2 separate regions of the Homo sapiens genome follow, and region 1 is linked to region 2. The links are contacts of gene promoters, found by promoter capture Hi-C in human tissues and cell types (Jung and others, 2019). All regions are on one chromosome and are shown on one strand. Each heading gives the region's core, a stretch centred on a gene start or on the middle of the fragment in contact. The rest is flanking DNA. Distances are from core to core; before and after follow the strand shown.

Evidence for each region. Contacts are between HindIII fragments. The study calls those that stand out against the background at their distance.
Region 1: a fragment that was not itself captured here is called in contact with the fragment with the promoter of SLC6A12 in region 2 in 6 of the 25 tissues and cell types used here (H1 embryonic stem cells, IMR-90 fibroblasts, dorsolateral prefrontal cortex and 3 more).

The regions. Positions count from the first base shown.
Region 1 is chr12:245,097-250,785 of GRCh38, forward strand. All of the region lies in intron 2 of SLC6A13 (solute carrier family 6 member 13), which reads right to left. Among named protein-coding and RNA genes, the nearest start is that of SLC6A13, 15 kb to the right of the region's middle. The HindIII fragment of the contact is 4,795 bases long and covers 1,032-5,689 here.
Region 2 is chr12:212,391-218,563 of GRCh38, forward strand. SLC6A12 (solute carrier family 6 member 12) reads right to left here and starts at 1,767. Exons shown (of 16, transcript NM_001122848.3): 1 at 1,532-1,767. RefSeq lists enhancers at 1-104, 116-165, 877-1,648. The HindIII fragment of the contact is 37,462 bases long and covers 1-6,173 here.

The sequences.
Region 1 (5,689 bases), core at 2,179-4,678, 34 kb after region 2:
CAAGCTTCCAACTGAGTACTAGTCAGTGCATATGTGTGAGAAAACTGAGGTGAGGGAAAGAACCATTCAAAATGATTAAAAGTAATGGTGCTCACACACTGCCAGAGTAAATAATCTCAAGATTCACCAGGCATTAGGCAGAGTACGCAGAAGGGCATTTCCTCAGTAACGGGGAATAATTATCCCTAGACCGAGCACACTTCTATTGCTACCTAACCAATCTTAAAAGCAAGATATAAAAAGAGCAAGTAACTTCACTGATCCCAGAACAGAGCTAAAGAATATTTACAGAAATACGAAATTGGCCGGGTGCAGTGGCTCACGTCTGTAATCCCAGCACTTCGGGAGGCTGAGGTGGACAGATCACCAAGTCAGGAGTTCAAGACCAGCCTGGCCAATATAGTGAAATCCTGTCTCTACTAAAAATACAAAAATTAGCCTGGCATGGTGGCACGCACCTGTAGCTCCAGCTACTTGGGAGGCTGAGGCAGGAGAATTGCTTGAACCTGGGAGGCAGAGGTTGCAGTGAGCCGAGATCGTGCCACTGCACTCCAGCCTGGGCAACAGAGTGGGACTCTGTCGCAAAAAAAAAAGAAAGAAAGAAAAGGCAGGGTGTGGTGGATTACGCCTGTAATCCCAGCACTCTGGGAGGCCAAGGCAGGCAGATCACGAGGTCAAGAGATCGAGACCATCCTGGCCAACATGGTGAAACCCCATCTCTAGTAAAAATACAAAAATTAGCTGGGCGCGGTGGCTCAAGCCTGTAATCCCAGCACTTTGGGAGGCTGAGGCAGGTGGATCATGAGGTCAGGAGATCGAGACCATCCTGGCTAACACAGTGAAACCCCATCTCTACTAAAAATACAAAAAAATTAGCCGGGTGTGGTGGTGGGTGCCTATAGTCCCAGCTACTTGGGAGGCTGAGGAAGGAGAATGGCGTGAACCCAGGAGGCGGAGGTTGCAGTGAGCCGAGATTGTGCCACTGCAATCCAGCCTGGGTGACAGAGCAAGACTCCATCTCAAAAAATAAAAGTAAAAATAAATAAATAAATAAATAAATAAAATACAAAAATTAGCTGGGCATGGTGGCATGTGCCTGTGGTCCCAGCTACTTGGGAGGCTGAACCAGGAGAATTGCTTGAACCCGGGAGATGGAGGTTGCAGTGAACCGAGATCGCTCCACTGCACTCCAGCCTGGCAACAGAGTGAGACTCTGTCTCAAAAATAAATAAATAAATAAATAAATTATCCAGCAACCCATAAAGCAAAAATATTACCAGGTCTGGTATTCAATCGAAAATTACCAGGAAAGCAAAGAATCAGGAAAATGTTACTCATAGCAAGGAGATTGAACCTGACCCATAATTTACAAAGATGTTAGAATTAGCAGATGAGAATATTTAAAAGTTATTATAACTGTATTGCAAGTGTTCCAAAAGTTAGGGATATAAAAGATATTGAAAAAGACCCAAATAAAACTTCTGAACATGAACACTACAGTGTGTGAGATTTAAAGAAATACATTGGATGGGATTAATGTTAGTAGGCAGAGCAGAAGAAAAGATCAGTGACCTTGAACCATAATAGAAACTATCTAAAATAAAACACAGAGAGAAAAAAGAACATTTTTGCTGGGCATGGTAGTTCATGCCTGTAATCCCCGCATTTTGGGAAGCCGAGGCAGGTGGATCACCTGAGGTCAGGAGTTCAAGACCAGCCCAGCCAACATGGTGAAACCCTGTCTCTACTAAAAGTACAAAAATTAGCTGGGTGTGGTGGTGCATGCCTGTAATTCCAGCTACTTGGGAGGCTGAGGCAGGAGAATCACTTGAACCTGGGAGGTGGAGGTTGCAGTGAGCTGAGATCATACCACTGCACTCCAGCCTGGGTGACAGAGTGAGACTCCATCTCAAAAAAAAAAAAAAAGAAAGAAAGAAAAGAAAGAAAGAAAAGAAAAAAGAAATTTTTTAAAAAGAACAGGTATGCCTAAGTGGTGAGACAGCTTCAAAAAGCCTAATGTAATGGGAGTCTGTGAAAGAAAGAAAAGGGTGAGAAAAAGCTTACAGAAATAATAGCTGAAAATTTTACAAATTTTATGAAAACTATAAACCTATAGATCCAAAAAGTTCAACAAACACCAAGATTAAAAAAAAAATGAAAAAAAACTAGTCCAAGGTGCATCATAATCACATTACTTAAACCGGAATATGGAGCTTTTAAGAGAAAACCTTAAAAGTCACCAGAGAAAAACGACACATATGTACAGACAAAGATAAGAATAACATCAAATTTCTCATTTAAAACAATGCAAAAGAGAAGACAGTGATAAGGAAGCACATTTGCTGAAGCAATAAAGGAGGAGGGAGAAAGCTGTCAACCCGGAATTCTATACCCAGCAATAATACTGTTCAAAAAGGAAAGTGAAATAACTGTTTCTTAAGACATGCAAAACCTGAAAGGATCTACCACAAGTAGAACTGAACTACCAGAAATGTGGAAGAAACTCCTTCAGGGAGAATGAAATGATATCACCAGATAGAAATATGAATCTATACAAAGTAATAAAAAGCTTTAGAAATAGTAATTACATAGATAAACATAGAGAATGTTTTTCTTATTATTCAAATATTTTTTAAAAGATAATTGACTGGTTAAACAAAAATAAAAACAATGTAATATTGATTTTATAACATATAAAAATGTATAAGAAGAGCACAAAGGTTAGGAGGAAAGAAATGAAATTGTAATATTTTAAGGTTCTTATATATAAAGTGGTACATTATCACTTGAAGATAAAGTGTGATAAGTTAAAGATGTATACTACAAAGTTTAAAACAATCAGTAAAATAACACAACAAAGTTACAGCTAATAAGCCAACAAAAAGAAGAAAGCTAACAATGGAATAAGAAAAAATATTCAATTATTCCAAAAAAAAAGCAGGAGGAGAGGGAAGGGGGAAACAAATAACTGATAGGACAAAGAGAAAACAAATAATAGGATGATAGAGTTAAACCTAATTACATGGATAATCGTATTAAATGCAAATGGTCTAAACGTCCCAAATAAAAGGCAGAGATTGTTAGACTGGCTTTTAAAACCTGACAAGACTCAACTATATGCTGCCTTAAGAAAATGCACTTTGAATAAAAAAGACATGAAGAGGTTAAAAGTAAAAGGATAGAAAGATATACCATGCTGGGAGGCTGAGGCAGGAGAAATGGAGTGAACCCCGGGGGGCGGAGCATGCAGTGAGCCGAGGTTGCACCACTGCACTCCAGCCTAGGCGACAGCAAGACTCCGTCTCGGAAAAAAAAAAAAAAAAAAAAAGATATACCATGCTAACACTACTCAAAATAAATCTGTAAAGTTTATCTTAATGTCACACAAAGTAAACTTCAGAGCAAAGAATATTACCAAGGGTAAAGAAGGTAATTTCATAATGATTAAAGGGTCAATTAATCAAGAGGGTCAATTAATCAATCAGTATTTCAAGTGCATATTCACCTAATGACAGAGCTTCAAAATGCACGAAGCAAAAACTGACAGAACTACAAAGAGAAACATATAAACTAATTCCTGATAAATGTTAAAAACGTTAATAGCCCTCTCTCAATAATTTATAGAATAAGTATACAGAAAATCAGTATGGATATAACAGATTTGAAAATTATATCCACCAGCTCAACTTAGTTGACATTTATTGAACATTCTACCCAACAGTCCAACAGCAGAATATGCATTAGTTTCAAATGAACATGGAATATTCCACCAAGATGGGCCCATATCCTGGACCAGAGATCAAATCTCAGTAAGTTTAAAAGCATCCAAGTAATACAAAATTGGTTCTCTGACTAAATTAGAAATCTATCAGAGAAAGACATTTGGAAAATTGCCACCTATTTGGAAATTAGGTAACACATTTCTAAATAGCCTATGGCTCTACTGAAGTAATCAAAAGAGAAATTAGAAAGTATCTTGAATGGAATGAAATGAAACCCAGTATCATAATTTGTGGCATACTGCTAAAGCAGTACCTAGGAGATTTACTAAATGATAAAAGAAGAAAAGTTTCAAATCAATTACCTCGGCTTCCACCTTAAGAAATCAGAAATTATTGCTGAAATGAGGGTGTAGTTAAGAAAAAAAGAAAGAAAGAAATGAGAAGGATAAGAGCAAATGAAAGCCAAAGTAAGTCAAAGGAAATAAAAATCAGAGTGGAAATCAATAAAATGGAAAACAGGAAAGCAACAGAGAAAATCCATGAACCAAAAGCTGGTTCTTTGAGATAATAAAATTGATAAAATTTTAGAAGACACAAATTATCAGCATGACAAATGAGATGTATCCTCAGTAAAGATTCTATAGATATTAAAACAATAATAAGAAAAGATATGAAGAACTTTATGCCAGTAAGTGCAACAATTTAGGTAAAATAAAAAACGTAACTACCAAAGCCCACTCAAAAAGAAACAGTCTGAATAGCCCTATAACTATTAAGGAAAATTCATTTTTGGTTTAAACCCATCCCACAAAAATTTCCAGGCTCAAATGACTTCAGTGGTGAATCCTCCAAATATTTAAGGAAGAAATAACAGCAATTCTACACAAACTCTTCCAAAAAATTGAAAAGATGGAATGCTTACCCAACCAATTTTATAAAGTGAGCATTACCCTGATAATAAAAGCAGACAAATACATTATAAGAAAAGAAAGTTAAAGATCAACATATTTCATGAACATAAATGCCAAAATTCTAAATGATTTTAGGAAATCAAATCTAACAATATGTTAATAGGACAATATATTATATAGTAATGTTTATCCCAGAGATACAAAGTGGGTTTAACATTTTAAAAAATCAACATAGTGTTGTAGTCTCCAGCTGTTATAATAAATGGATAAATAAATAATGTGACTCATCCTGTTAACAAATTACAAAAGAAAAACTATATGATCATTTCATAGGTACAGTAAAGTATTTGACTGAATCCAACAGTCATTCCTAATAAAAACTCCCAGCAATGATGAGGAGAAGAGAACTTCCTCAACTTGATAGAGGGCATCTACAAAAAAACCCTACAGCTAACATCATACTTAATTGTAAAAGACTGCTAAGATTGAGAATAAAACAAGTGTCTATTCTTACTACTTCTATTCAATACTGTACTGGGGATTCTAGCCATAGAATCTAGCCAATAAGGCAAGATAAGGAATTAAAGGTTATTCCGATTTAAAAGGAAAAAATAACACTGCTTTATTCTCAGAAGACATGATATTCTACAATGAAAATCCTTTGGAATGCACACAAAAAAAAACCTATTAGAACCAATCAGTGAGTTTAGCAAGTTTGCAGGATACAGGATGGGCATACACAAATCAATTGTGTATGTATTAGGAATAAACAACCATAAATTAAAATGTAGGAAATAATACCATTTACAATAGCATCAAAAATATTAAATACTTAGGAATAAATCTGACAAAAGTTGTGAAAGATATATGTACACTCACAACTACAAAACATTGCTGAGAGAAATTAATGAAGAGCTAAATAAATGGAGAGTCATACCATATTCAGGATCAGAAGACTTAATATCATTAAAATGTCAATTCTTTCCAAATTGATCTATAGATTTAATACAATCCTAATCAAAAGCACAACAGACTTTTTTGTAGAAATTCACAAAT
Region 2 (6,173 bases), core at 517-3,016:
GGCGCAGGGGCAGGGAAGCGAATCACAGAATCCAGTTTGGGCCCAGGATTTGGGTTTCATCAGAAATAGGGGAAGTGCAAAAAGAGAACATGAGCTGGTGAACCGACACTGACGCAACATGATTTTTTAAAAATAAAAATGAAAATAAAAAAGTAATCGGGAGGAGCGTAACTTGTGGTTCAGAATGAAAATCCAGAACGGCAGAATGAAAGCAAGAGCAAGTGAAAAGGACAGCTGGCCCCGAGCCGTGGTAACTCAAGAGGGAACACGCTTAAACTGCAGCAAGAGGGATTTAAGTTAGACTCAGGGAAGAAATGGCCCAGAGGATGTTAGACACCAAAACAAGCTGTACTGAGTTCTCCTTTCTGGGCTACTTTTAAAAGGCAAAGGACTACACACCCCACCCCCGCTGTGCCCTTCCACCTCCAGCTTCGGCTGGCCGCCTCTCCAGCCCCTCGAGTCTCCTCCAAGGCCGCCCACCTGCTTTGCTAAGCCGGGACAGGGGGGTGAGGGGTGGGGGATGGGCCTCATCATACTTCAGTGCCCTCCAGAAGCAAACACACCAATTTCCACACCGGGCTTGGTGCTGCCCAGAGAGCAAATCTTCAAGAGACTAGAAAGTCCAAAGTTAAGTCTGTTTTCAGGAGCTGGGCATGTCGCCAGAGGCCCAGCTGGGGCTAGCAGAGGTGCAGACGAGACCAGAAATGCTGCTGCCCATGTGCTGCTGGGATCCCAGCTCTGTCCCCTTTGCTCCCCAGTCCAGCATAGGAATAGCTCAGACCCTGCACACGGGGGGATGGGACACCCAGCCCCTGCTTCAGTCCACACCCACATACCAACACCCATTCCCATACACACACTGGTGCCATTTCCCGTCACGTCCCTTCGCACACACATACCTGTGTGCATGGCACCAAAACCTGGCTCTCTCTGTAGTCCTTCACACCCCGTGAGTGCCGGTCTCAGCTGGTGGCTGCCTGCAACTCCCCTGAGTGCCCCCCTCGGGTACAAGCACACCCATAGCATCCACCGCCCAAAGCCAAGACAGCTTCCTCCTGGGAGGCGCCTGGCACCCAGCTCGTCACGCTCAGCCGGCAGGCAGCGGGCAGGAACCCCTCACCTGTGATCATTTATTGCAGTTCCTGGGCCCTCGGGAATGCCCCGAGGTTTCTCCTGTCCACTTCTCCTTCCACCTTGCTGGGCACCACCTGCTTCCCCTCCCCTCGTCAGATGACCACCCCTGCTTTCACCCACTGCCGTGACCAGCTGCCCATCGCTGGACTTTCCTGCTCCACAGGCTAATCACTGAGCTGCTCCCACGCTGGATGGGGCGGAGCTAGGGGGCACCCCTTGTCCTGAGAGTCGTGGGCATCAGACTTGCCCTTTGGCCTGAGGTTATTGCAGGTCCTGCCCCCCGCTGCAGACACGCAGTTCCACAGAGTCTCGCTTCCCAGGGCTCTATCCCTCCAGCCCCTCTGAGCAGCAGTTGGAGACTGCAAAGACAGAGCCAGCCCCTCCACTTCCCGCTCACCTCAGTCCCCAGCACCGGCTCCTGTGGTCAGCTTGGCTGTGGGCATCAGGTCTCCAGGAGAGTCCCAAGGCAGCTGCTTATGGGAAAGCCAAGAGAGCCGGGACCTGAAAGGGAAACTGCCCTCCACGTTCACGCCTTACCCTGTTCCTCCCAGCGCAGAATCCCATGTGACTTGTCCAGGGACTCCCAGACAGAAAGAAGCCGTGTGTGTATGTGTTGGGGCGGGGGCTGTGTGTGTTGGGGAGTGAAAGGACAGAGAAATACCAGGAGCAGCAGGAGGGACTGAGGCCAAAAGTTTGTGAACCGAGATTACAACATCCAACCTCAGGAAGTCAAGTCCTCTGTCCCCAGCGCTCCCACCCCCATCCCACTCCCACTGTGAACCCACTGTCTCCAGACCGGTGCCCTCCCCGTGGGCACAGTCCCATGATGGCCCCTCCAGAGCTGGGCTGAGCTGCTGCTCCCTTGGGCAGGGGAAGGGGCTCAGAGACTCACACCCTGACCTCATCTCCCCTCCTCCTCCTCCTTGCCCTTCCCCCTTCCCCCTTTTCCCCTATCCCCCTCCAGAACCATCTCCTTCCCAGGGATGAGGAGACGGGTATGTGCAGCACAGGGGACAGCCCTCTCTTACCAGAGACTCCAGGCTATAAACTGAGAACCTTGGGAGGGGAGGTGACCTCACTGACGAGGGCAAGGGAGGAGGGTGAATCACACGCTGGAGTTTTCCACCAAGTACCTGCCCTCTGTGGCTTCTAGGCAAGGCCCTGGACCTTCACAACCCTTCTCCTTGGGATTTTCCTAGAGAAAGCACCCAGAGCGTACCTCAAGAAGCAATGTAGAGAGGACCCAGGATTGGGACCAGACAGACCTGAGTTTCTTCTCCTCCTCTATCATGTATCAGTCACGACAGCTAGGCAAGGGTCAGCCTTGGTTTCCCAGTCTGTCAAAGGTAGGTAACAACACAATATCTACTTTGCGGGGTTGCTGTGAGGGTGCAGGGATATCATAGGTGCTTAAGGGGAGGTGTGGGTGTTTGTTGTGTGTCCTCTGGAAGCAGAGGCTGGGATGGTGGGGTGTCTGGTCCCAGGCACCTCTGGTCACTGCATAGCACCAGGCACCTAGCTAGAATTTGTCTGGAGTGGCCTGCCAGCTATCAATGGGGAAGGGTATTTTTTGAATACATGTGCCCTATGCCGTGTGCCCAGTGAGCTCCTCCAGAACAGCGTCCTGGTCACTGTCCCTGAGCACGCCCACCTGGTGTGGGGTACAGCACTGTCCCACCGCCCTTCATTCAGAATAGCTGGTGCCTCCTTCAAGACAAAGGAGGTGCTTCTTCAGCTCTAGGTGGTATGAAGGGAGAGGAAGTTGCAGGGAGAAAGGGAAATTTCCTTTTACATGTGCTTCCTCTGTGTATTTTAGAACTTCCCAGCAGGGGTGGGGTGTGAAGTGAGACTCTCAGTCTGTAGTTTTCCATCAAGCACCCCCACGATATGTCTCTCGGGCCCCTCTCAGCCTCTCCTGTGGGGTTCCACATGAAGAGGAAGGCAGAGCAGGTCTCAGCTCTCAGACCCATTGCCTCTATGAAAGCAGAAGCCGGGCTGGGGGTCAGCTGTGGCACAGTAGGACATGGCCCAGCCAGAATCCATACTTGAGCTACCCCGGTGCTCAGGTGTGGCCTGTCCCTGCATGTCAGGTCCACCATGGATTGACCACAGAGTTATTGCAGAGGGGACATCAAAGTCCATGTGATCACCTAGCTACAGCTACTCCAGAACAAAACACCAGCCTCTCCATAAAAAGGAGAAAGAGGGGAGAGGATCAGACAAGCCAAGATGGTGAATTTCCTTGTTGGTTCCCTCAAAAATTATATTTAGCACATACAGTGTGACATGCTTTCTGTGAGGATGAACAGCAACAGCCCAGCAGTCCTGTCACCTCTCCTTCACCTTGTCAGAGAACAGCTGCCTGGTTGACCTGGCCCAGGGGGTACAGTTTGACTTTCCCCCAAAAGAGCTACCTGGTCCCTCCCTGTTTTTATCTGACTGCCTCTGGCCTTAGTCCCACCATCTTAATGTTGAGCCCTTCCTCACTCAAGTTTTCCTAGCCTCCAAGACCCACTTGGTATTCAGACCAGTTAGTAAACTTCTGGAGGCCAGAGACTCTCTAATGTTGAGCCCTTCCTCACTCAAGTTCTCCTAGCCTCCAAGACCCACTTGGTATTCAGACCAGTTAGTAAACTTCTGGAGGCCAGAGACTCTCTAATGTTGAGCCCTTCCTCACTCAAGTTCTCCTAGCCTCCAAGACCCACTTGGTATTCAGACTGGTTAGTAAACTTCTGGAGGCCAGAGACTCTCTAATGTTGAGCCCTTCCTCACTCAAGTTCTCCTAGCCTCCAAGACCCACTTGGTGTTCAGACCGGTTAGTAAACCCCTGGAGGCCAGAGACTCTCTAATGTTGAGCCCTTCCTCACTCAAGTTCTCCTAGCCTCCAAGACCCACTTGGTATTCAGACCAGTTAGTAAACTTCTGGAGGCCAGAGACTCTCTAATGTTGAGCCCTTCCTCACTCAAGTTCTCCTAGCCTCCAAGACCCACTTGGTGTTCAGACTGGTTAGTAAACCCCTGGAGGCCAGAGACTCTCTAATGTTGAGCCCTTCCTCACTCAAGTTCTCCTAGCCTCCAAGACCCACTTGGTATTCAGACTGGTTAGTAAACTCCTGGAGGCCAGAGACTCTCATCTTTGCAAAAGGTAGGCATCCTGGAAAGCCTAGCTGAGACTGGGCTGTTTCCACACTGAGGAGTGTGCAGGGTGAAGACGACAGGTAGCTGAATGAATCTATCACCTTTGCTGCAGTAGGAACCACTGGCCACCACAGAATGTTCTCACCACCCTCATCTTCTAATCTCATCCATACTTTCAGAGGGCCTGGAATAGGACTTATTTCCTGAGCATCTAACTCGGACGAGGAGTTTTACATGTTACTTCATTTCATCCCCTTAAGAACTTTGAAATGTAAAAATTATTAGCCCCATTTTACAGACGGGAAACTGGGGTGAATAAATAGAAGCTAAGTGATTTGTCCTAAGGCCACACACAAGTAAGTGATGGTGCTGGGATTTGAACCTGGGCCTCTTGGCTCCAAAAATCTATGCTTGTTCCACTGAAGCATACTGTTCCCCTGACCATGAATATCTATATGTCAGGGGTCTCATTTCATAATTCTTTATTTCTGCCTCTAGCATTTAATACAATTCTGCCTCAGAATAGGCACTCAGTGTTCATTGGATGGAGGATGGATGGATGGATGGATGGATGGACAGATGGATGGATGGATGGATGGATGGATGGATGGATGGACAGACGGATGGATGGACAGATGGATGGACGGATGGATGGATGGATGGATGGATGGATGGATGGATGGATGGACAGACGGATGGATGGATGGACAGACGGATGGATGGATGGATGGATGGAGGATGGACGGATGGATGGATGAACGAGTGGATGAATGGAACTTGAAGGGGGAAAAATGATTACAGTTTTCCCTTTTCTGGGAGGACATTGTTTCCCCAGAATCAGAGGGCTCAGATGACTCAGGTCCTGCTTATCTTGGACAGTACTGCTCTGTGTTGTCACTTGGTGAAGAGTGTGGAGTAGCACCCTCAGGCCACAGGACCAGGATTATTTTAGGACTACGTCTTCCTTGCCTTCTAGTGAAAATGCTTAGCTCGGCCGGACGCGGTGGCTCACGCCTGTAATCCCAGCACTTTGGGAGGCCGAGGCGGGCAGATCACAAGGTCAGGAGATCGAGACCATCCTGGCTAACACGGTGAAACCCCATCTCTACTAAAAAATAGAAAAAATCAGCTGGGCGTGTTGGTGGGCACCTGTAGTCCCAGCTACTCGGGAGGCTGAGGCAGGAGAATGGCGTGAACCCGGGAGGCGGAGCTTGCAGTGAGCTGAGATGGTGCCGCTGCACTCCAGCCCGGGCGACAGAGCGAGACTCCGTCTCAAAAAAAAAAAAAATGCTTAGCTCAATAAATGTGTAGCCTCCTTCCTGGAGCCCAGTGCAACCTAGTCTGAGACTGGGGACAGCAAGGATATCTCTAAACTCTTCCTGAACTTTTCTGTGATGCTGACAGTCCGATGTGGTGGGGCTGCAGCTATGGGAAATAGGATGGGTTTGACTGAATGTGTCCCCAGGGCAGCTGTCCCTATAGCATCTGCTGGACTCTAACAACACTGATGTAAGTAGCAGTATTCCTGTTTTATGGAAGAGAAAACTAAGGATCAGAGAGGTTAGCTTGCCTAAGGTCACACAGTTAGTAAGTCAAAGGGCCAGGATCCAAGCCAGGCCTGCAAGCCCCTCTACAGGAGAATGCTCAGCTGGCTGTGGCGTCTCTGAGTTTGTGCACATGTGCACATGTCTCTGAGGATAAGGAGGGGCTGGTGCCTGCATGCCTGTGTGTGGATCTGAGACCTGGGTGTTCATGTGGGCAAGGTCTGAGGCCCCGCGCAGCCTGGTGGGCTCAGTGCCTAACAAGCTGCTTTCCCGCAGCCCTGGGCATAGTCTGTAACTCTCCCGCCACCTCTGCTTCTGCTCTCCCTGTTCAACTTGCCCCCAGGCTCTCACTGCTTGC